6 separate regions of the Homo sapiens genome follow, and regions 2, 3, 4, 5 and 6 are each linked to region 1. The links are contacts of gene promoters, found by promoter capture Hi-C in blood cells and fetal thymus (Javierre and others, 2016). All regions are on one chromosome and are shown on one strand. The core of a region is centred on a gene start or on the middle of the fragment in contact, and the rest is flanking DNA. Distances in the headings are between cores, read along the strand shown. Region 1 holds the start of HOXB5 (homeobox B5). Region 2 overlaps SKAP1 (src kinase associated phosphoprotein 1). Region 3 overlaps SKAP1 (src kinase associated phosphoprotein 1). Region 4 overlaps SKAP1 (src kinase associated phosphoprotein 1). Region 5 overlaps SKAP1 (src kinase associated phosphoprotein 1). Region 6 overlaps SKAP1 (src kinase associated phosphoprotein 1).

Region 1 (3,696 bases), core at 1-2,500:
CGGGGGAGCAGGACCCAGGCGTCCCGGCACCCAGCTCACCACAGCTCCAATCCTCTCTACTCCAGATGCCCACATTCAAGCTCGATTTCTGCACCCCTTTCTACTGCATCCCCCACTTCTGCAGGCAGCCAGTGCGCCCGGCTTTGTCTCTTGCTCGCTCCTAGTGCCTCACCCTTGGCTGGGCTCAGGCGGCCGCTCGCCCCGGGAGGGAGGAGAGCGGTTGCACTTTTGCCCCGGAAAGCTCCTTTTACTGTTCACCCCTTCTTTGCTAGCGACAGTCTCAAAATTTCAGGGGTAAGCAGGACCCTTCCCCACATTATATGAACCCCATCCTTTATCCTAAAGCTGGTTCAGCTGCGCTAATAAAAACCTAAGCCGAAGCTGGAAACAAATTATTAAAAATACCCCCCTCTTAACAGAGAGACCCTTTTTGGCTCTGTCTACGAAGCTATGAGGCCCCTCTTAGATACTTCTCCCCCTTAGAAAAATGAATCTATATTTAGGGTAAAGCCAAGCTCTCCTTGTCCCCCCGATCCCACCCCAAAACGCAGAGAAGGAAAGCCGAGAAGACAAAAAAGAGAGAGAGAATTACCATGGCTGATGTGAAGCTTCCTCATCCAGGGGAATATTTGCGGAGTCTGCCCCTCGGGCGCGGCTGTGGAGGTGGCCATGGGCTCTGGCTGCGCCCGAGCTAGGCTGGGGCTGCTTAGCTGGCTTGCCGCTTCCTCAGGCTCCGAGGACGCGCTGGCCTCGTCTATTTCGGTGAAATTGGCGCTGGAGCTGGCTGAGGTCGCCTGGTCGGAGGGGGACGAAGCAGAGGGCTTGGCGCCGTGGCTGTCGCCGTTGGTGCAGGGCAGGGACTCGGGCGAGGACAGGGAGCAGCTCGAAGCCGCTTGCCTGAAGCGGGGCTCCTGGGCGGGCGCGGGGAAGGCGCGCGAGCTCTCGCCCACCGCCCCAAAGTGGCTGGAGGAGGCCGAGGAGCGGTTGACGCTGAGGTCCATCCCATTGTAATTGTAGCCGTAAGAGCCGGTGTGCATGGCAGCGGGATCCCTGTAAGAGCCGCTCAGAGAGCTGCCACTGCCATAATTTAGCAACTGATAGTCCGGGCCATTTGGATAACGCCCCGAGAAGGAGTTTACAAAGTACGAGCTCATTTGGGTGATTTTGGAGGGCTTGATTTGTGGATCGTGGTCGTTATAACCCTGTGCTTCACGATTTATGATGTATTAATGAATTATAGCGATGCACTGTACTTCGTTTTGCTATGTATGCGGCCAAATATGGGGGGGGGGTTGGAAGGGGGGTGGGGGGCGTTAGGGAATCACGTGCTTTTGTTGACCAGTCGTAAATTCTCGCTGATGACCTCAAGAGGTAATTCATGCTCTATGGTTACAAATAATGACGATCCGAGAATCGTTAGGGCCGATTCAATGCGAGCCTCCGAGAGAGGGGGAAAAAAGGAGAAGGGGGAGAAACAGAGAGAAGGTTGGCTTTGGCCTCTGAGCAGAGCGCGCCACCTCCCGGCGACCGACGGGAGCGCGGGCGTGAGACCGCCATGGCGGCGGGCGGCTGCCTCCCTGCTGGCTCCCTGCAGGCTCCCTGCAGTCGCCGGGAGAGAAAGAAACCCGGCCAAGGCTCAGCCACAGGGTTGAGCCTTTTAGAGCAGGGGTTGGGCTTTTTACCCACTTTCTTGTGGGTGGGGTTAGCCTCTCTATTTGGTTCTTTCTCCCTACATCATCATTGTCGTTATTATTTTAACTTTGGATGAGAAGATCAAAGATAGAGTTGCTTTTCCCTTTCTTGGGCTTTGCAAGTCTCCGAATTGGAGGCGGAAATGGGGGAAGGGTTGGAAGTTGTGTGTGAAAAACAATTATTGCAACGGGTTTTCCCCAGGAGCTTAGTCCGGCCTGCATCCTGGTGGAACTGCTGTTACCGGTCCACAGCGCCCAGGCCGAGCCGGCAGGGCTGGGCGGGAGGCTTGAAAAAGAAGGAGAAGCGTTCACTTCTCCTGGGCCACTTGGAAGTTCGAAATCCCCTTCCGGACCTCCTTGGTGGTCCTTAGCCCAGGCGTGGGGAGTGACAGAGCAGGACAGGGACCCCAGAAACCGAGCACAGCTGGGGCTAAGCGGCCTAGTTGCCGAAAAGACTGCAGCGGCCACCGCGTCTGCTGCTTAGTTTGAGTAGTAACATGTGTCTGAGAGTTTGTAAAGCGGGATCCCTTCCCCTCCTCCTCGGCTATTGCATTCGGAGGCCCCACTACAGGTCCCTCACTCGCAGCTAGGCAGTTTGAGAATTTGCCTGGTGGCAGCCGCCTTCCCGGAAAAGGGGTTCCAAGGACCCGCATGCTTTGCTGAGCACGCTGGGCGGCCAGAGACCGCCGCAGCTGGTCTCCTATTAGGAGGGGACTATTTTCTTTAAAAATAAGAAAGGAAGCGAGAGGGCGGAGGAATAAAGGAAAACAGTGACCGCAGCTTGCCTTCTGGGTGCCGGTGCAAGCAGAGAGAGAATGAGCCATTCTGGGTTGAGAGGATGACACTAAAAGCCCCATCACCTGGCCTCCTGCCCTGGGGTCTCCAAGGAGCAAGGGAAAGTTGTGGCCTTCGGCCTGTGCCTGGCTGGTGGCTTTACATTCCCCTACTTGAGGCTGATCTCCTACTTGAGGCTGATCTGCTACTTGAGGTGGGAAGGGGCACCTGGAGCCTTCAGCTGCAGGGTGAGAGATACCCAGTGGCCCCATTTTTCAGTCTCCAGAGCCACAGGCCAGGAGCGGAGGGCCAAGGCTGGCGAAAAAACCTGGCCATGTGGACGGGCCAAAGACCAGGGGTCGCTGCGAAGGTGAGGACAGAAAAGCGCTGCAGAGGCCCCCAGACTATGGCTCCGTCTCCGCCAGAGAGCTTTAGGGGCCTCAGTGGCTCCCTTAGTGCTGTGTATACACGAGGAAAGGCTAGAGAATGAGAGGGACACAGCACCTCTCCATCCCCCAAGTCTGCACGGGGAGAAGCGGCTGTGAGCCTCAGCACCAGGGAAACGCAGCGCTGGGGCCTGGGCAGGACTGATCGCTCCAGCCTTTATCTCAGCTGTAACTTCCCAGTCGAACAGGGCTCGCTTCGGCGGGCCAGGGCTCTCGCCTTTGCTGAAGAATTCTGGCTCAGGAAAGATGGAGAGGCTGGGGGTTGAGGAGAGAGGAAAAAATGGCAGGGGAGGATTGGAGGTGACCGAGCGTCGAGTTTTCACATCTTTATTATTGTTGTTGTTGTTGTTATTATTATTATTATTATCATCATCATCATCATCATCATCATCGAAGTATTTCACGTCCAGAGCTAAGACAAGACTACAAACACAACACATAGAAAATTAATAAAATAGAACTTTGTTTTCTTCTGAGGCTCCTCTTCTTACTTCTAGGTAGTATGTGCTCCTTCCAGTGGCTTTGGGGAGGGGGTGGGAGAGACGACAGGTCTGGGATCAGGGAGTCTTCAAGGCCCCCGCTGAGGGGACAGCGAATCTACCATTGAACCGTGCACGGGGGACATGGACAAAATGAGACGCGACAGGGACAAGAGCATTTTGCTCTGCTTCCAGGAAACATCAAGTGAGTCCGCTCCTCAGTTCTCACCAGGAAGCCTGATCAGGCTGAGGCGAGTTCCTCGGGAAGGAAGGGCGCGCGGGATGCTGGGTGGGCTCGAGTAGTGA
Region 2 (3,696 bases), core at 619-3,118, 350 kb before region 1:
ATGAACAGATCATCTGAAGTCTTAATAGGCCAATGCTAGTTCAATAGTTGTATGGTTAAATCATGCACATTTGTGCCTCAGCTGACACAAAAAGCAGACCCAGATGCCTCACATGGATCATGCAGATAAGTCTATATTTAATACTCTTCCTCTCTCGGGGAAGGCCTAACAAAGCAAAACAAAACAGATCTAAAACCATGCTTAAAACTTTCACCAGCCAAAGAAACATTCCAACATTCTTTTCACTATAAAACATCTAATAGTAGAAATGATACATGATTGATAAAGTGATTCTAAATATACTTAATTCTGGTGTCTTTTCAAAATATTTCTGAACCCAGCAGTAACAGATATAATCTTCCAAACTGGGAGTTTTTTCCATTTTTAGTTACCTGTCCCAAAAGCACTTATTCTCTTACTTTCCATTCTTTGCTGGTAGTTTTGTACAATGATGTCAAGATATCAAGGCTCCTGACACATCCTGAATTCTGAAAGAATGTGCTTCCTGAATATTCCTGATAATGGGCTTAGTATCAAAGGGGTTAATGAGGTTGAGTTAAGACAGCATTTCCTGCTTGAAGGAGAACTGAGTCCAACAACACTAGAAGCATTTTCTTATTATTTTTCTCTGCGTTTGCAGTAACTGCTTCTCCTGGAAGCTTTACCTGGGGGAAGGGATAAAGCAATATCACTAACCTGCCTGGCATCTGGCTTCCAGCAGGGAAAGAGGCTCATCCACCTCACCCCTCGGGCTTCTTTAACTGAATTAGCTGTATTAAGTGCCTTGGTAGCCCAGGGAATGAACGTCGTTGATCAGTGTGCCTAGAAAGGCATGTTTTCAGGGTATAATTCTGCCGGAGGAGAATGGACTCCCCAGCACATGGGCCTAAACTGCAGAGTAACAGAGCCCTAAATCTCCAGTTACAGATTTACAGCCTCCATTCTCCTTCTTTACTGCAAATACAATCCGGCAGTAATGGTCTAACACAGCAACACCATCACCAACTGGCTGATGGCTCGCATAAAAGCAATGTCAACCAAAAACTATGAGTTTATAAAAGGGAACAAACCCTCAACAGTGACAAGAACATGAAACCCATTAACAATTTAAACACTCTCCATTTTTTATTTCCCACCTTGAAGCTATTATTGCTGATAGAAAGCTCCTCAGTGGAGTTAACCACTGCAAGGAAGGGTTAGGAAGCTAGCTTAACTCCTAAGACAAGGGGTTATGTGGTTTGAACCATTTGATGGTGTGGTTTGAACCTTTGTTAATAGGAAGGCCATTTGATAACCTGTAGTGCAAAAGAAGGTCTTAGAATACTGTAAGTGTGATAGGATCTCCCCTAGTAGGTCTATCAAATTATTCTCAGGAACCACACTGAATAAAAACGGTTAGAATTGGATTGGCTAGTCTATTGAATATGCCAAGACTTGAGCCTGTACTGTAAAAGGAATGGTAGAATATTTTTTGGAGAAAGTTCTGTAAAAATCAAGAATCAACTCTTGGCATTATAACAATAAATGCTTATATGAAGTTTTATTTCTGTGATAGCTCTAACTCTTCGAAGGAACATTGCCACCACAATATTTCCATTTTGCAAATTGACTATACCTGGACTGTGATGTAAAATGTAACTCGTCACACACTATTACCTTCCAGTCTTTAGGTAATCAGATACAAACATTATAACTAATTTCTCAACTTAACTACAGGACTCTCCCATTTAAAACAAATATTACTGTGGAATTCTCTGGTGAAAAATGCTTGAGCAAGCCATCTCCCTCCCTGCCCTTTCAAATTCCCTGACTTCCCCTAGTAAAAATAAAAATAGGACTTTAAAGAGATATAATAAGCCCATGATTGGGTATTTTACCCCCAAAACAAAACTTCTTCCCTTTGTTCTATAAATCAGACAAACCCAATGGCAATAAGAAAGTTGTTCTCTTTGTGGTTTTGAGCTTTTTGCATGTGTAATTTGTCAAACAGTTCATCTTTTGGAAATAGGATCTTCACACTAAAAAGGAACAAAATCCTGTTTTTGCAAAGGGGAAAAAAAGGCCATGTTGAACATGGTAACATATATCCATACGAATAGTGCCAAAGAACTTAAAGTCCCTGATTTACATATATTGTGCTGATTGTTTGAGCATCAATATAAAAAATTTAATCTGTACTAATGGGCCTGGAGGAAGCGCAAATAAAACCGAGGAATAAGTACTTGTTTTGCAGTACAATGAATGCTATTAATATATATATAAAACAGGCTTCAGTGATGCATAAGCTATTGTATTCTAAAAATATTCCTACATTTTTGGCACTTTAAAAATGTATTACCTCACAAAGGACTATCAACCTATCTGCAGACTCTTAACCTGGGCTAGCATTAAGAAAGGAATCATTTCATTCTGCTTTTGTTACATGTACATAGATTTTGAACTAAGCAGATATGGCACCTGTTGGTTTTAAATGTCTCCTCCTCTAAGAAAAAGAAAGAAAAAAGTTCAGGAGAAGAAAAAGAAGAGATGTTAAATAAAAGACAAGAAACAAGGAACTAAGAGAATAAAATTATTTTCCCCACAGTGTGCAATGAAATCAAGCTACACTAATTCTACTTATAATAATGTTAGAAAATGGTTAGCCTTAATGCCTGATAATGACCAGAGCTAATGTGGTTCTGCTTTCAGTGTGGATAATGTTTAAGGAAGTAGCAGAATGCATGGCAGCTTTCCTGGACTATACAGTCAACTCCAATGAAGCCTTTTCTCCAGCTTGAGTCATAACCATAAATACTGCCCCATCCCCACATTCCAGTAACAAAGTCCTTCCTTCCTCCTTTGCCCCTAAACAAAGGGGACAACAGTGTGTTCGGTGGGAACATCTTGAAATAAGATAACACTCCCCAAATGGAAGGAAGTCACAGGGGAGATTGACGCCATAAAGGCAGTTCTATCCTATTGAAACGCCAGCAGATGGGGTCATAAACATTTCCTTCTCCCCTTGCTAACAGCCACCAAGTCAGCTTCATCTTTATCTTTATCTTTATCTTCCTGTCAGGTCATAAATACCTCTCACTCAAGCTTCACTCACAGCTGGGCCATGCCAAGCAAGTTTACTTCCTGTTAAAGGTTCCTTTCAGCAAACATTAACAAATAGTTGGGGGAAAGAAAACTGAAAATTCTGCTGATGATACACAGTTATAATATTCCAAAGGAAGCTTGGAAACCTCAAAGAAAGGGTTTGGCCAGACTAAGAAATGACCAAACTGCCTAGCAAAAAGCATGGAGATCCACTTAAAAGAAGATGCGTTCACAGGGAAAATGAGTCAAATAATTAGTTAAAACTTATATTTACATCCAAACAAAATAAAAGAGCTGAATAGTGTCATGGGCTTTCATTCTTTCTTCTAGAACCTCCAAATGATGCATGGATGCTTGCCATTTGTTCCTGAGTCTAAAACCTGGACCATAATCGTAGAAAATGAAAACAGAAGATTTCTAGGAGTAGTAACTCAATACAAAGTCATGCTTAGGCCAAAGGTTAGAGAAAGAACACACCCCTTTACTTTCAGAATTTTGGCTCATGAGGAAGGAGTAACCTGACTCTCTTTCCTTCCTGGGGAACAGTTTTACACTTGGGAAACCATCTGCCTGAAGTACTGCTGGCAGCTCCAAAATTATAGAATCTAAAATGGT
Region 3 (3,696 bases), core at 487-2,986, 330 kb before region 1:
AAGTAGAAGAGAAGCTGATAGTTGGAGCCTCTGAAGCTGTTCATATATCTCCTGAATGCATGCAAGAGGTTGATTTGCTCACAAAGGAAGAGCAGCTTTGAGAATGGGCCACATGGATGAGAAAAGCGACCCAACATTAGAAATCTGCTGAGGACAATCACCTTCTGGCCCACCTGTCTTCTTGCACCAAGTTCCAGCAAAAAGCTCGCATCATGACACACTAGTGCTTTATCATCCTACAACAAAAAAAAGTCAGGATTCGAGGCCAGTTAAAGTGATGCTCTTAGGTAGCAAATTGTCAGTATTCCCAAAAGGACAGTCCTCTGATGGTGCTTTTGATACTGAAATTTCAAAGATCTCTGTTCACCTGAATGACATCCATAAATTAAGTCTCCCACAAAGTCCAAAATGTTCTTCTATTGCATTTAACAGAGAAGATACAAAATATAAAACTTTATTTCATGTGTGTGCAGATTTCCATATGCTTAACAAGAACTCACCTGGTTTCTATATTATGTGAAAAGATTGTCCTTATAAGACAAATTATATTCTAGTCACTTTCAAATGAAGTGGATTCACCAAGCACACAGTTTATCTCAGGATCTGGAAGCCTTCCTTAAAGCATGACTGTGCAACAAGAGTTTTAATGCCACTCCACTCTGTAATGCACTGCATGTTAACAAGATTTATATACATTACTGGTGCCGTTAAGGAAACTTAAATGACTTGCAGTTTCTCTAGATGAGATTTTAAAAAATCTTAAAAAGGGTGTGTAGCATACAAATGAAATCAGATTACATTAGAAGTTGTTTAAAAGTACAAACATAATACTGCTTGTGTACCAGCTATGGAACACACAGCAAAGACTTGTTTTACTTCAGACAAGCATTCTACAGTCACTGAACATAAAAAACCATAAAGTTACAGCTGCTTTTAAAATGTCACTTAGGGACAAACTGTATAGATGGGAAATTAGATAGTACTGAATGGTTCTGGAGAAGGACCAGGCCTGTACTCTGAACTCCTAACTCTGCATTCATGAGAAAGAATAAAATATTTCTCATCACTAATCATGTTTTCATATGTAGGTACCTGTACCTACAATGTGATCCAAATAATTTATCAGATTCAGAATGATTAATACTTTCCAAACTATACTTAAAATTGAGTCTAGTTATATTGTATGAAAATTGAGAAAAATGAGGTAGATGATGTTTGGGTAACAATTAAAATTTTAGGCAGATGCTTGAATGTCCGTAATTTTTTAAAATGGGGGACTCTACAGTACATGCTGCAAAAATGACTCAAGCTAGGATTTTCAGAATAACCTATATTTTAAAAGTGCAGAACAATGTCAAATCTTTAAGCTTTCAAGCAGAGGATTCGCAATAAAATGAAATCATTAGGCAAAGAGTGGTCACTGTTACGATAAGAAGAAAAAATAATTCAAAATTCTCATATCTATTATTATATTAGAATAGTTCACTTTCTTCTCTACATAATAACATTGGGTATTAAAGAGCCATTTATGCATACCTTATTATTATTTATGAAATTACAAATACACACAGTGTCTGATAACTCATCTCTCTGTATTAAATAGGAACATACATTGTTTTTTAAAATGTCTGCCTTTTACAATGTGTTAGGTAACAGCTTTCCATAGCGTAATCATGAATGCATTATATAATGTGCTTTATAAGAAATTATTAAGGATTATGACTATAGCAATGTAATTCGAATATAAATATGAATAAAGCATTTAGGAATGATATTTTCACTTAGACTGTTACCTACATAATTTGCAGCAATACAATTATCATAGAAGAAGACATACATTTACAGAAAAAGCTGTTGCTACGAATGTTAGTAAAAATCCTATAACGTAGGTGTTTTTCTAGCAACTTCACAAAACCCATGCCTTTAAAAACATGAGGAGAATCCACAATGCCACCTACAGTTTTCTTGACAGTAATCTTGCCTTGGCAGGAAAAAAGGTCAGCTTTATTTGAAAAGCCAGGTGCATGTAAATTTCCAAACTGCAAGTAGGTGGCAGTGGAGACATTTCTGGATGGCCCTTCTCAGTTGGAAATGTAAAAGGAGGAGGAAGCTTCCTTAAAAACAAGTTAAAAACATACTAAAATAAATAATTTCCTGAAATGTAACCTTCCAGATCACCATTAAGAGCTAATAAATTATTTGTCTTTAGGGACCAAAATCCCACCAATCTCTTAATGAAGACAACCATAGCATGAAAAGTGAGCAGCATGGATGACAAAATTAGAAAAAAATGAAAAGAGAGAAGTGTTGGACAATTGTTTCCCACAAATCTAAAAGAAATAATTAGGAATTTGATGTGGACAAGAAACTCCGAGGCTAGCAGCATGAAATACATAAATTTAAAACTAGTAACTTAGCATTTTAAGAAGCCATTAAGAAATCTCCTGTTTGAATGTGAATTTAAGAGTAAGGGAGATGAGTTTATTAGGATCTGGTCTTTAATGAAGAATATCAATTGAGTCCATCAAAAAATTGTGTACAAGAGGCTATTAAACAATGTAGACATATTTAAAGTGTGCTCAACTATAAACAAACACTAGAAACATTAGAATAAAACCACCTGAATTGTCTTTCAAGGTTAATGAGTTGGCATTTAGATTCATTCCATTCTCAAGTTTACTTGCAAAGATAAGAAGGGTCATTAAGTTGTATTATCGGTTCAATTTAATTGATTTGACTCGTGGACATCATATTAGAAACTGGAAAATGCCCAAGAATAAACACTGGAGGGGTGTGTGTGTGTATCAATATACATGGAAAGAAACAGGTAAATGTGTTGTAAGATGGAAAAAAAGGAAGTTAATGACATTATTTATATCGGAATCACCACGTGAAAAGAAATCAAGGTAAACGTCCAGATCAAAGCTTTTTCACACCATGACTATCTCGAATCAGCTTTTCTCCTTTCCTTAATTGGTTAACCACACACACACAGTTTAACAACAAAGGCAACCAAGTGGTCAAGGGATGCAAGAAACCTGGTGAAAACAAATGCCACGTTCTTAGTACTACTGTTCCCCTGCCTGGAACATTCTTCTTCTGTTCATCTTTTAAGATTCACCTCAAAATCCAGATACTCTAAAATGCTGTTCGGAATCCCTGATGTGAATTTAATCACTCCCTCTCCTGCAGTATTTAAAAAAACTTCTATTATAGCAATTATCACATTTTAGAATTAGAATTATTATAGTTGTGTTTGGATCTGAACGACCCCTAAGTCTGCAAGTCCTAGGAGGGCAGGGGTCAGTCCTTGACAATTTTTGGAAAATTTCTGATGCCATGCTCTGCAAGGATGTTTATCTGAATTAGTTGAAAGGATGACTTAAAACCATCTCTCAAAATACGCCATGCTTTAATGCTGTGGACAGTAAAGAATCTATGCTTTGGTGAACAACAGAAGAGTGACATGCCTGTGACTCACTCTGAATAGAGCCTTATAAAGCCTTAAAAAGAAATGTGGCACCAACCTTTACCCTCTCCTTATATACGCAGGAATCCTTGGGAGCTACAGGGTTAGTTTGGTTGCTAGGAGTAAGGCCTGAGAATTATTAGTGAACTGGCATCCTGGAAGCAGTAGGGGGCGTTTTACGCTGAGGATGCTATTGGAGGATGTACTCACAGACTGTGTGATGGGCG
Region 4 (3,696 bases), core at 394-2,893, 310 kb before region 1:
AGCAGACAGAGAAGAAAATATACTTATTTCTCATGGAAAGAACTCATATATTGCTTGGTTCTAGAAAGAAAAATGATCTAAAGCAATAATAATAAGCTTGTTTATGGAAACTAGACAAATCAAAAAGAGTTCTGGAAAACATATTTTGTATGTTTGGTTTTAAATACTTTATTGAGATATAATTTACATAAAATACAATTCTTGGCCAGGCGCTATGGCTCATGCCTGGAATCTCAGCATTTTGGGAGGCAGAGGTGGGAGGATTCACCTGAGGTCAGGAGTTTGAGACCAGCATGGTACAACATGGTGAAACGCCGTCTCTACTAAAAATACAAAAATCAGCTGGCTGTGGTGGTGGGCGCCTGTAATTCCAGCTACTTGGGAGGCTGAGGCAGGAGAATCACTTGAACCTGGGAGGCAGAGGTTGCAGTGAGCCGAGATCTGCACTCCAGCCTGGATGACAGGCTGCACTCCAGCCTGGGTGACAGAGTGAGACTCTGTCTCAAAAACAAACAAAAAACAACAACAAAAAATGACACACAAAAAACACAATTCTTTTTAAATGTACAGTTTAATGAATTTTGACAAATATATACATATATATATAGTAGTTGTATAACCACTACCAAATCAAGATATAGAATATTTCCATCACTCTGAAAAGCTCCTTTTTGCCCCTTTGTAGTCAATCCACTCTTTCTATCACTGGCCTTGCCAATCATTGATCTATTTTTGTGTCTATAGCTTTGACTTTTTAGGGATGTCAAATACATGAAATCATATAGTATCTAATATTTTATGTCTGGCTTTCTTTAATTAGCATAAAACCTTTAAGATTCATCCATGTAGTTGTGTGTATCAGTAGTTTATCCCTTTTTATTGCTGAATAGAAACACAATTTGTTTATCTACTCACCAGTTGATGGATACTTGGGTTCTTTTCAGTTTCAGTGAATAAAGCTGTTATAAACACTCAAGGCAGAACCTGTACTCAGACTTAGGCAGTCTAAACCCAGAGCTCAGGTTTTTTTACTTTTTTATTTTTATTTATTTTTTATTTTTTGAGATGGAGTCTTGTTCTGTTGCCAGGCTGGAGTGCAGTGGCGTGATCTTGGCTCACTGCAATCTCTGCCTCCTGAGTTCAAGCGATACCCCTGCCTCAGCCTCCCAAGTAGCTGGGATTACAGGCACATGCCACCATGCCCGGCTAATTTTTTGTATTTTAGTAGAGATGGGTTTTCACCATGTTGGCCAGGATGGTCTTGATCTCCTGACCTCGTGATCCACCCACCTCGGCCTCTCAAAGTGCTAGAATTACAGGCGTGAGTCACTGCACCTGGCCCAGAGCTCAAGTTTTAAAGCACTTCAGTCTACTGGTGCCCAATAAGAAACCATGAAGCTCTTTGTCATTGTCATGGCACTCCCTGATGGGGTTCTTCTCACTGCTCCTAGTGCCTGTGATGCTCTCCAAGTGGAGACTGCCTGATCGCACATCAAATGCTGCTCATTTAGGCTGGCAGGCAGAGGCAGCGTGCTTTCAAATTGTGCTTTAAAGAAAAACCTTTATATTTCCAAACAAATTAAGGGAATTTACTTGTAAGGAAAATCTAATTTAGGTATCTTTAAAAGGAGAGGTTTAGAAAATAAGAAATTAACACTGTGGCCACCATCTAGTGATCCATGGCTTAAGTTTTAACATGGCACTGAAAACTTCTCTTACCCATAAGTGTTGATCTAGTATAATTTATTATCTTTGGAACAGTATAAGTTTATTATAAAATCAATGAGAAAATATATGCCATTAGGCATGCCCTCATACTCATATTGTTTAGAAAAACAATAAAACAAAAACAGACAAAAAATAAATATTAATATTTACTAGTTTATGGACAGGCAAGACAACTTTTTAAAAATCCTAGTTTATCTAATGCATATATTTTTAGTACTGCAGCAATAAGGAAAACCTGAAGAACAACAGCTAAGTGTAACTAAGAGTACATATTCTACAGTTAAAAAAATCACACAAGCATTTACTTGATTCTTCATGCACCGATAAGAATGGTAAAGAAAACAGAAATCCCAAAATAATATAAGTTTGTCTCAGCTAACAATATCATTTGGAAAATTCTTATGTTTACCCAAAGTTGAACTGCACTTAATACTTTCTTTTATGCCTTTCTGTTTCATTTTATTAGATTAAGAAATTATAAAAAGTTTAAACATGTACAAATGTATAGAAAATAATGTAATGAACCTCCTGTAGCTATCATCCAGCTTCAACAATTATCAACTCATGGCCAATTCTGTTTCCTCTATTTTCCTCCATTCATTCCTCACCTCTACCCAAACTAATGCCTTATTTTTTTTAACTTTGTACTTTGAAATAATTTTAAGTTTTCAGAAAAGTTGCAAAAATAGTACAGAGTTCTCATCTATCCTTCACCCTGTTCCCTCAAAGCTAACATATTGCATAACCACAGTATAACTATCAAAACTAAGAAACTGCTTTTGGCTGGGCAAGGTGACTCATGCCTGTAATCTCAGCACTTTGGGAGGCCAAGGCAGGAGGATTGCTTGAGCCCAAGAGTTCAAGACCAGCCTGGGCAACATAGTGGGACCTCAGCTCTACGAAAAAGTAAAAAGTCAGCCAAGCATTGTGGTGTACGCCTGTAGTCTCAGCTACTTAGTAGGCTGAGGTGAGAGGATTGCTTGAGCCTAGGAGGTCAAGGTTGCAGTGAGCCAAGGTCGTCTCGCTGCACTGCTGCTGCCTCAGTGACAGAGCAAGATCTGGTCTCAAAAAAAAAAGAAAGAAAAGAAAAAAAGAAACTGCCCTTTTTTTTTGGTAAGGAAAATTGCACATTTTTGTGCTCCTCTGATAAATGCAAACCCACCCATCTGAGGGAACAATAACTACAAAATGCCATCCACTCTTAGCAATTATGTAATTCCATGTAATTATTTTCTCAGTTTGGCTAAAAAAAGCAAGTACTTTGAGATCTCTAAAATAGTCACAAACTAGTGCATTTTCTAGTTAAGAAGATGTTTGGGAGAGTCAAACTCTTATTTCAGAGACAGAATATAATTTAATAATTACCTGAATACAGAAACACCAATGAAGTTGTGGCTTAGACGTGTTGGGCATTTGTAAAATATAGGTAATATCAAGAGACTCCTGCTGTGAGTCAAGACAAACAAGCTTCCCCCTGCCACCCAGCATAACTGATGAGAGAATGCAGAGAAAAGTGATTAGAGTAGACTATGATACAGAGCTGGAGAAAGTTTCCTAAGGGAAGACATGTTTAAAGTTGTATCTAAAATTCAGATGTAATAAGAAAAATAAAATAATAATAAAATTTAGATGCATATATCATTAAGGCAGCATAGCATAGTGCTTAAAGCCAGGATAAACTCTGGAATCAGACTGCATGGGTTCAAATCACAGTTCAACTTCCTCTTGGTCTGTGACCTGGGGCAAGTTATTTAACCCTTTCAGACTCTGACTCTAGGTGCTTATAATAACCTCTGCCATCTATGGATGCATCAGCCTTGGTCCAATCAACCATACAGCAGAGATCATATGTCTGTTGACTTGGCTGACTGGCTATATTTCACTCTAACTATAATCTAGCAGCAGGCAGGGGGCAGGATCTCACTAACTCTTGAAGATCTTAGTGGTGGTGGATAGATTCCTCTTCTG
Region 5 (3,696 bases), core at 743-3,242, 290 kb before region 1:
CAGTTTTGGTAGCATGGATAACTCAGGCTCTCCTTGGACTGATTCTGATTGACTATGTGGAAGGGGTTACCCTGGATTCCCAATTCTAGAAAAGTAGATGATTGAATTCACTTTCAGGAATCCAAGAGTTTAGAATAAGTTTCAGATTTTGAGATACTGACTATAAAATAAGAATAGTTAAAAGACAAAAATTAAAAACTCTTAACTGTTTTAGACTTTATTTTATATTTCTTATGCATCTTACACTGAGTAGTACACTATTCCCTTGGAGCAAAAAGCTCCCTGATGACTACGTAATTCGCTTCAAGACACTATGTTTTGATTTAGCAAATCCCTGTATTCATTTATTTCATGAGATCCTGTTTTCATGAAAGAGTTAAACTCCTTCTATAAGGTAAAGAGCTTAATCACTATGGGATGAGATATTTTTTCTATTTTCCAGTGCAATTACTCTTTTTCTTAAATCTAATTGAATTCACTTTCCATGTTAGTGGGGGAAGGGAAGTGGGTAGGAGGGATGCAGCATATGTTAGAAGACAAATAGTGTAAACTGTAGACCTTTTAATACAGTGGATTTTTGTAAAGATAAAAAATTGTGATCTGATAAAAATGTTTAATATTCAGTGGTATGGCAGGCGTGGGGGAAATTTTGACCATCAGAAACTGGATTTTGTGTATGGAGAATATCAGGGACATTGCATAAGGAACATTCGTATTTATAATTTATAAAGCACCTTGGGATTCTCTAGACGAAAAGCACCATATAAATATGAGCATTTTCATTTCATGTGGGTGATCACAGAATGTTGGCATTTCAGCATAAACCATATTTCAGTAGTGAAAGGGATATAAACTCTTATGTAGATTTGGTTTTGCTGCCATTTTCTCTTCCCTGAGTTGTAACATACACAATGGAGCATGCCCTTATTGGCTGCCTCCTTTACCTTTTCTAAAGTTCCTGTCTATTTCGTTTTGTCTTTGTGGTGTCAATGTACTGTCCAGCATTTGGCTTTATACTCATAAGCTAGACTACTGAAGGAAGTAAACATTTATCTTGGATCTATCTGGTATAGTGTTTTCCATCCTTCAGTATTTCTGATGTCTAAGGGAGGAAAACCTCCAGATATCATTGAAGGGGGAAGAGGGGGAGGCTGTCACTCTGTGGCACATTAAGACACAGTATAGAACAGGAGACTACTATTATTTCAAGGTTCTTTGAAAGTTCTTTAGGATATGACAGAATATATATGTATGTGTGTGTGTGTGTGATTTGAAAATCTGGATCATACAATCACATTTTAGGGGATCAATCTGACAAACATTTATTGAATGTCTAATATGTGCTGACAGCCCACAATCCTTTGGAGATGCCAGTGTATGTAATACAATGCAGGTAAATGGTGGTAGGCAACAGCTATGATAACTGATCAAGTAAAATGCAAGACAGGAAGGGGTTGAGTCCAACCTGGGGCAACTAGGAAGCCAGCTAGAGAAGAGGGAGTTTGAGCATGGCCTGGAAGGATGAGTGGGTGGATGGGAGGATGGGAAAGGCACTCCAGGTGGAAGGCACAGGGCTGGGTTTGCGGAATGATGATGAATAATCCTGTGAGGCTGGGGTTTGGGGCATGAGTTTCACATGTAGGAGGTAAGATGAAAGGTAGGCTCAGTATTTCAGGTCATGGTTTCAAATCCTCTTCAAAATAAGTGTAGGTCATGAAGCTGCAGTGTTATGAGAAAACTGTTTTTAACTATGAGTGTTCCTAGCTTATTATTTCCCCTGTGTGCTCAAGAGTTTCTGGCTTCACTAGTTCAGGTCCTTCCCAGGCTCACCATCATCCAAGGAGGGCTCTGCCATTCTCAGTCAAGTGTTTTGGCCTTGTGATGCAGCATGGGGAGAATGTGGAGAATAAGATACTTAGGTTGACAGTAGAAGACAGGGAGCAAAGAAGCAGTCTCCACCCCATATCTTCAAGGATTAAGAGAGACAGGGCAGAATGGCATGGGACTGTGAGAGAGTTCTGGGACAGGAGAGTGAGAGGCTCCAGGGAGTTCTGGGGATTTTGAAAAAGGAGGAGAAGTTGCCTTGTAAAATGGGCTACAGGTATTTTTGAGGACAGAAATTCCTACTTTTGTTGTGCTTCTGTGAATGTGATACTTCTTCAGGACTGGGTCCTGGTGTCAAAGGGATAGACAGCTCAGTGTGAGATTGCATGTGATTTTCCATGGTCTGGAGGCTATATTATATTTATTAACCACATATTATACCAAGAGAGAGTGATGAGGGGTGAGCCTAAAAATGAAGTGGATCAGAATCTTTTAGCATTTTGCTCCTCCATGAATTCTCTATTTAATGATTAATGTTTGTTGAATAGATTGAGATGGTTCTCACTGTATATATTAATTACTGCTTAACAATAATGTGTTTTCTCTTAATCCTGTCACATCTCTTTAATGGCTGCCTTAAACTTCCACTTTCCAGTCTCCCTAAGCTCTAGGCCAGTCCCTGCTCCATGGCTTTTTACTCTTAGTAAATGGCTTTGCCTTCTCCTCCCTTCAAGTAAAAATATCTCCGTATCTTCATTCTCTTCTATCCTTTAACTCCTTTCTCTAAGGAATGAGTCCCCTGCCTGTTAGCCAGGACTGATTCTTGTATAGTATTGACTGACCCATTTCTACCTTTCCAGGACCTGATTCTACCCATTATCTTCTCTTTTAGACTGGTTCTTTCTCATATGCTGGAAAATCAGCTCAGATCTCCCCTCTCCTAAAACTAAAACAAAATAACCAAAAAGCTCCTCTCTCCTCCTACCATTTATCCCTTTCATTCTTTTCACCAAACAACTTTTTTTAGGTAACATATACCCACAGCCTCTAGTTTCTGAGTACTCACTCACTCTAAGATCACTAATAACTAGGCTTGTTTTTAGTAGACTACTGAAACTGCTCCTTGGAAGATGAGCAAAGATCTTCTTGTTTTGTTTCCTCTCTATTCCCACCAACCCTTCCCATCAGCCCAATATCCAACAAATTATAAATTTTCAGGGAGATTCCCAATTACCTATCTTTATATTCCTTCAGCACCTAGCATTATGCATTGCACATGGTAGAGACTCCATGAGTATTTGAATTGAATCTAGATTTCTTTCTTTCTTTCTTTTTTGAGATGGAGTCTCGCTCTGTCACCCAGGCTGGAGTGCAGTGGCGTGATCTCGGCTCACTGCAACCTCCGTCTCCTGGGTTCAAGAATTGCTTGAACCCAGCAATTCTTCTACTTCAGCCTCCCAAGTAGCTGGGATTACAGGCACCCACCACCATGCCCAGCTAATTTTTGCAGTTTTAATAGACATGGGGTTTCACCACATTGGCCAGGGTGGTCTTGAACTCCTGACCTCAGCTGATCCGCCCACCTTGGCCTCCCAAAGTGCTGGGATTACAGGCGTGAGCTACCGCACCCAGTCTGAATCTACATTTCTTAGACCTTCCTTATGGTCCCCTGGCTCCTGATTTTCTTCCACCATGTTAGGAACCTTGCAGTAGTCTCAGTGCTACAACTGGCATCAGGGCACATAGCTTTCTTTAATGAGCTTACAGAAATAGGAAATATCTCATCCTCAGTTGTACACAACAAAATTTTTAAAAAATTATCATTTATCAAAAAATATAATGAAGACTATGTTATTTTGATTTTCTGTTGAG
Region 6 (3,696 bases), core at 704-3,203, 280 kb before region 1:
CAGACTATGCATATAAAGCATATATGAAACATAAATGGATTTCATGTTTAGACTTGGATCCCATCCCCAAGATATTTCTTTAGGTATATGGAAATATTCCAAAATCTGAAATCCAAAACCCATCTGGTCCCAAGCATTTGGGATAAGGGATACTCAACCTGTATATACATATATGCTAATATTTTCCTCCCATCGCCTATGGATCATCCAGTATACCTCACCCTAGTCTCTCCCCTCTTCCACTCCTATCCCCCTTAAAATCAATTCTACAAAGAATAGTTAGAGAATTCTTTTAGAAATGTAAGTTATATTATGCCAGTCTGTTGCTTAAAACTCACTAGTTGCTTCCCATGATATGCAAAATAAAATCCAAATATCTTACTATGGCTTCAGTGACTTAGTCCTTTCTGTCTCTTCAATCTCATTTCCTAACACTCTGTCTCACTCTAGCCACACAGGTGTGGCTCTAGCCACATAAGTTTCTTGATTATTCCCTGAAGACACTCAAAGATGGGTTCTACCTCAGAGCCTTTGCATCTGCTATTCCCTGTGTCTGGAATGCTCGTCCCTTAGATCAACCCATGGCTTGATCTCTCATTTCATTCAGTTTTCTGCTCAGAGGCCTCCTCTGATCACCCTGTTCTCAAAGAGATCTACTGTCACCCTTTTTAGTCATTCTCTCTCTGCCTTTCAGTCTTTTTTGTTGTGTTTAGTTTCAGACCATTTACCATGGCTTGACATTATATAACATATCGGCCCCAGTAAAATATGAGCTCTATGTGGCTAAGGGTTTTGTCAACTTCGTCTCTGTGTCCCCAGTACTAGTCTAAGGTCGTGCACATAGTAGGTCCTCAATGATAAATGAATAGATGAAGAATAGTCAAAGCAATTGGCAGACATTCCACCTAATGTTCATTTGAATATGAACCTCAAAAGAATGTTCACATGACAGAGACCACCACGCTAAGATGAGCTATTGATCAGACTGCTAAAAATCAGCTCTCTCTTTCCCCAACTTGCATAACACTGAAACCATATCTGCCTTATGGTATCTATCACTATTTCTTTTATACCATTCTTATTTCATACAGATCTTATCTCCCCTAGTAGCCTTTGTGGAAAAAAATCCCAATCTGATCCTTCATCTTCTCCCTTATCACATCCAACATGTGGCAGGTATCCAGCCCCTGGATCATGGGCAGGGCTGACAGTCACATCCTGGCCATGACAATCTGAGGCCCAGATGCTCATGCAGGAGCGAAAAGTGCCAGCCTCTCCGAGCCATACTGAATGATGATCCTTGACTCTATGCTCAGACGGATGTTCATGGGCATTCATCTGTTGACAAGGCTGAATGAAGAGAAGGGACTCCCAATGGAAATAAACCTATGAAAAATCACCAATCCCTTGTATGATAATTGAGGAAAAAAAGTATCTCAATGTTGATATAAAAAAGACGAACATAAAATAAAGACTAAACTTAAATGATGATCAGTTGACCTTCATTTCTTTTTTAGGGGTCAATTCCCAAACAGAAGTAGAACTATCACAAACATGGCATTAAACGTTTTAAAAATTGAATTAAATTAAGAAATCAAGTTATGTAATAGGAACAATTTTAAAGATGAAGAAATGAAAGTGCTCAAAGGTTTGGACTAGCAAAGCATAATTCTATACTTAGACCAGTAAGCTGGTCATATAAAATGTTCATAAAAATTTCCTTTTGAAATAAATATACTTGGATATGAATAATTTTCATGTACCAAAAGTTAAATAAAACTTGAAAACAAATGATAATAGGCAAGTTGCTTAACATTTCTACATCTTAGTATCTTTATCTGTAAACAAAAGGAACTGAAGTAACTTCAGGTCACTTCGAGGTCTGAAATAATTCAAATAAGAATCTAGTTGAGTTTTTCAGGATGGATATGTGTTTTATGCTTATCAATGGCTGAAACTAGAACAAATATTAAACTCTCATGAGACATTAAGTTAGAAGGCATCATACAAAAATCAGCAAAAACAGAGAAGCAATCAAAGGGTAGAGGTAGAAACTGAAGTACTTCAAGAATAAAATAAAATGGAGTTAAATCAAGAAAAAAATGCAATCAACAGGTATGAGAGAAAAATAATGCAAAACAGAAGTATCAATAAAATGAAAAGATTTAGAAAGTGTAATACTGTAAAAAGACTTAATGACACCAGAAAAGCGCAAATAAACTTTCATTATGACACATGAACAATACCACTGATTTTTAGATTTCATGTAAAGCACCATAATTCATAAGCCCATAAGCCCCTAGGAAGACATTCATATTTCTACATTCTTTTGCAAGAATTGCCATGTTGAAACAGACCACTGGTCCATCCCTTTTGCCATGCTGCCCTGACAGCAAACAGATGTTTCAGAGAAAAGCTCTACTCTCACCAACCCAAATTCAATAATACACCTAATGGTGCAATACTATATCAAGAACATCATTTCTTTTTGACCTCAGAGGGCAATTATCTTATACCCAAAGCAGGAGGCTGGCTCACTTTGATTTCACGCTGGGTGGCCCACTTAAGAGGTCCCACTTATAATTACATCAAGACTGATATTTTCATTCACTTGGCTTTTCTGACACACTAAGCTACTTACACAATTTGCTGTCATCACCGTCACAATTAGGCTCTCATGTGTTTGGAATAATGTAGGGATAATACAAATGGTTGTATTTGTATTTGTAACTGTCCTTTTAAAAATCTTTGCTTTCTGTGACTGGGCATGGTGGCTCACATCTGTAATTCCAGCACTTTGGGAGGCCACGGCAGGAAGACTGCTTGAGGCCAGGAGTTCAAGACCAGCCTGGGCAACATAGTGAGACTTCATTTCTACAAAAAAAATTAAAAATTAGCCAGGCATGGCATGTGCCTATAGTCCCAGCTAGTCTGGAGGCTGAGGTGGGAGGATCGCTTGGAGCATGGGAGGTTGAGGCTGCAGTGAGTCATGATTGCACCACTGTTTAGCCTGGGCAAGACAGAGCAAGACCTTGCTTCAGGGAAAAACAATATTTGCTTTCTTAAAAATTAATATTTCTATTATTAGCTTCAGTTTATTCAAAGGCTCGAGAATTCCCAACTTAATGTAAATAACCTTCTTGAAGTGGAAACAAAAAGGAGAAATGAACCTTTAAAGAAGTACACATAACAGTAAGAATAACTTTTGAATACATGAGGTTTTGGGCTTTATGAGGATGGTTTTCTGAGAGAGTGAACAAAACAGAAGAAATAGACTGGAATGGCAAAAGGAATTGATCAGGAGTATGAAACTGGAGCTGGATCTCAGTTGTTTCTAGTCCCCTACAGATTTAAAGGTACATTGCAGAAGCACTTCAGCCATAAATCCCAAGGTCTTCTCATCTCCAGAGGAATCCTTTTTGGGACAATCTTCACCTGCCACACCCTTTCTATAGTCCTGGAGTAGACAATTTAATTAGAGCCTCTAGCATGACATTTAAATTAATGTAAAAGAATAGGGATTGGGACCAGCCTGGGCAACACAGAGAACCCTGTCTCTAGTTTTAAAAAGAAAGAAAGAATTGGAGAAGACTTTTTCAACTGGGAACATAATGACAAACTTGGAGAAATCAATTATTTTCTCCATCAGAGTATTCTGGACATAAGAAACAGCAGTAGATCATGGTAGTCAATGAT

What was found. Contacts are between HindIII fragments. The CHiCAGO score rates a contact against its expected background, and 5 or more counts as called.
Region 2: a contact is called between a fragment that was not itself captured here and the fragment with the promoter of HOXB5 in region 1, in 4 of 17 cell types (erythroblasts, endothelial precursors, total CD8 T cells and 1 more). The highest score is 6.9, in erythroblasts.
Region 3: a contact is called between a fragment that was not itself captured here and the fragment with the promoter of HOXB5 in region 1, in 14 of 17 cell types (megakaryocytes, erythroblasts, endothelial precursors and 11 more). The highest score is 14.4, in megakaryocytes.
Region 4: a contact is called between a fragment that was not itself captured here and the fragment with the promoter of HOXB5 in region 1, in 6 of 17 cell types (total CD8 T cells, total CD4 T cells, megakaryocytes and 3 more). The highest score is 7.3, in total CD8 T cells.
Region 5: a fragment that was not itself captured here is called in contact with the fragment with the promoter of HOXB5 in region 1 in 11 of 17 cell types (total B cells, M1 macrophages, M2 macrophages and 8 more); the score reaches 8.2 in total B cells.
Region 6: a fragment that was not itself captured here is called in contact with the fragment with the promoter of HOXB5 in region 1 in 14 of 17 cell types (non-activated CD4 T cells, activated CD4 T cells, fetal thymus and 11 more); the score reaches 14.9 in non-activated CD4 T cells.

Annotation. Positions count from the first base shown.
Region 1 is chr17:48,592,529-48,596,224 of GRCh38, forward strand. HOXB5 (homeobox B5) reads right to left here and starts at 1,251. Exons shown (of 2, transcript NM_002147.4): 1 at 593-1,251. The coding sequence starts at 1,154. The region is part of intron 1 of HOXB-AS3 (HOXB cluster antisense RNA 3); the gene reads left to right. It overlaps HOXB6 (homeobox B6), which reads right to left. Exons shown (of 4, transcript NM_018952.5): 4 at 3,223-3,696. RefSeq lists a silencer at 875-924 and enhancers at 1,181-1,688, 1,390-1,459, 1,689-2,194, 3,237-3,696. The HindIII fragment of the contact is 5,828 bases long and covers 607-3,696 here.
Region 2 is chr17:48,241,462-48,245,157 of GRCh38, forward strand. The region is part of intron 4 of SKAP1 (src kinase associated phosphoprotein 1); the gene reads right to left. Among named protein-coding and RNA genes, the nearest start is that of SKAP1-AS2, 51 kb to the right of the region's middle. The HindIII fragment of the contact is 2,422 bases long and covers 658-3,079 here.
Region 3 is chr17:48,257,840-48,261,535 of GRCh38, forward strand. The region is part of intron 4 of SKAP1 (src kinase associated phosphoprotein 1); the gene reads right to left. Among named protein-coding and RNA genes, the nearest start is that of SKAP1-AS2, 35 kb to the right of the region's middle. The HindIII fragment of the contact is 743 bases long and covers 1,366-2,108 here.
Region 4 is chr17:48,279,983-48,283,678 of GRCh38, forward strand. All of the region lies in intron 4 of SKAP1 (src kinase associated phosphoprotein 1), which reads right to left. Among named protein-coding and RNA genes, the nearest start is that of SKAP1-AS2, 13 kb to the right of the region's middle. The HindIII fragment of the contact is 3,099 bases long and covers 95-3,193 here.
Region 5 is chr17:48,298,319-48,302,014 of GRCh38, forward strand. The region is part of intron 4 of SKAP1 (src kinase associated phosphoprotein 1); the gene reads right to left. All of the region lies in intron 1 of SKAP1-AS2 (SKAP1 antisense RNA 2), which reads left to right. Among named protein-coding and RNA genes, the nearest start is that of SKAP1-AS2, 5.8 kb to the left of the region's middle. RefSeq lists an enhancer at 1,778-1,867. The HindIII fragment of the contact is 9,512 bases long and covers 1-3,696 here.
Region 6 is chr17:48,315,825-48,319,520 of GRCh38, forward strand. The region is part of intron 4 of SKAP1 (src kinase associated phosphoprotein 1); the gene reads right to left. Among named protein-coding and RNA genes, the nearest start is that of SKAP1-AS2, 23 kb to the left of the region's middle. The HindIII fragment of the contact is 4,284 bases long and covers 1-3,696 here.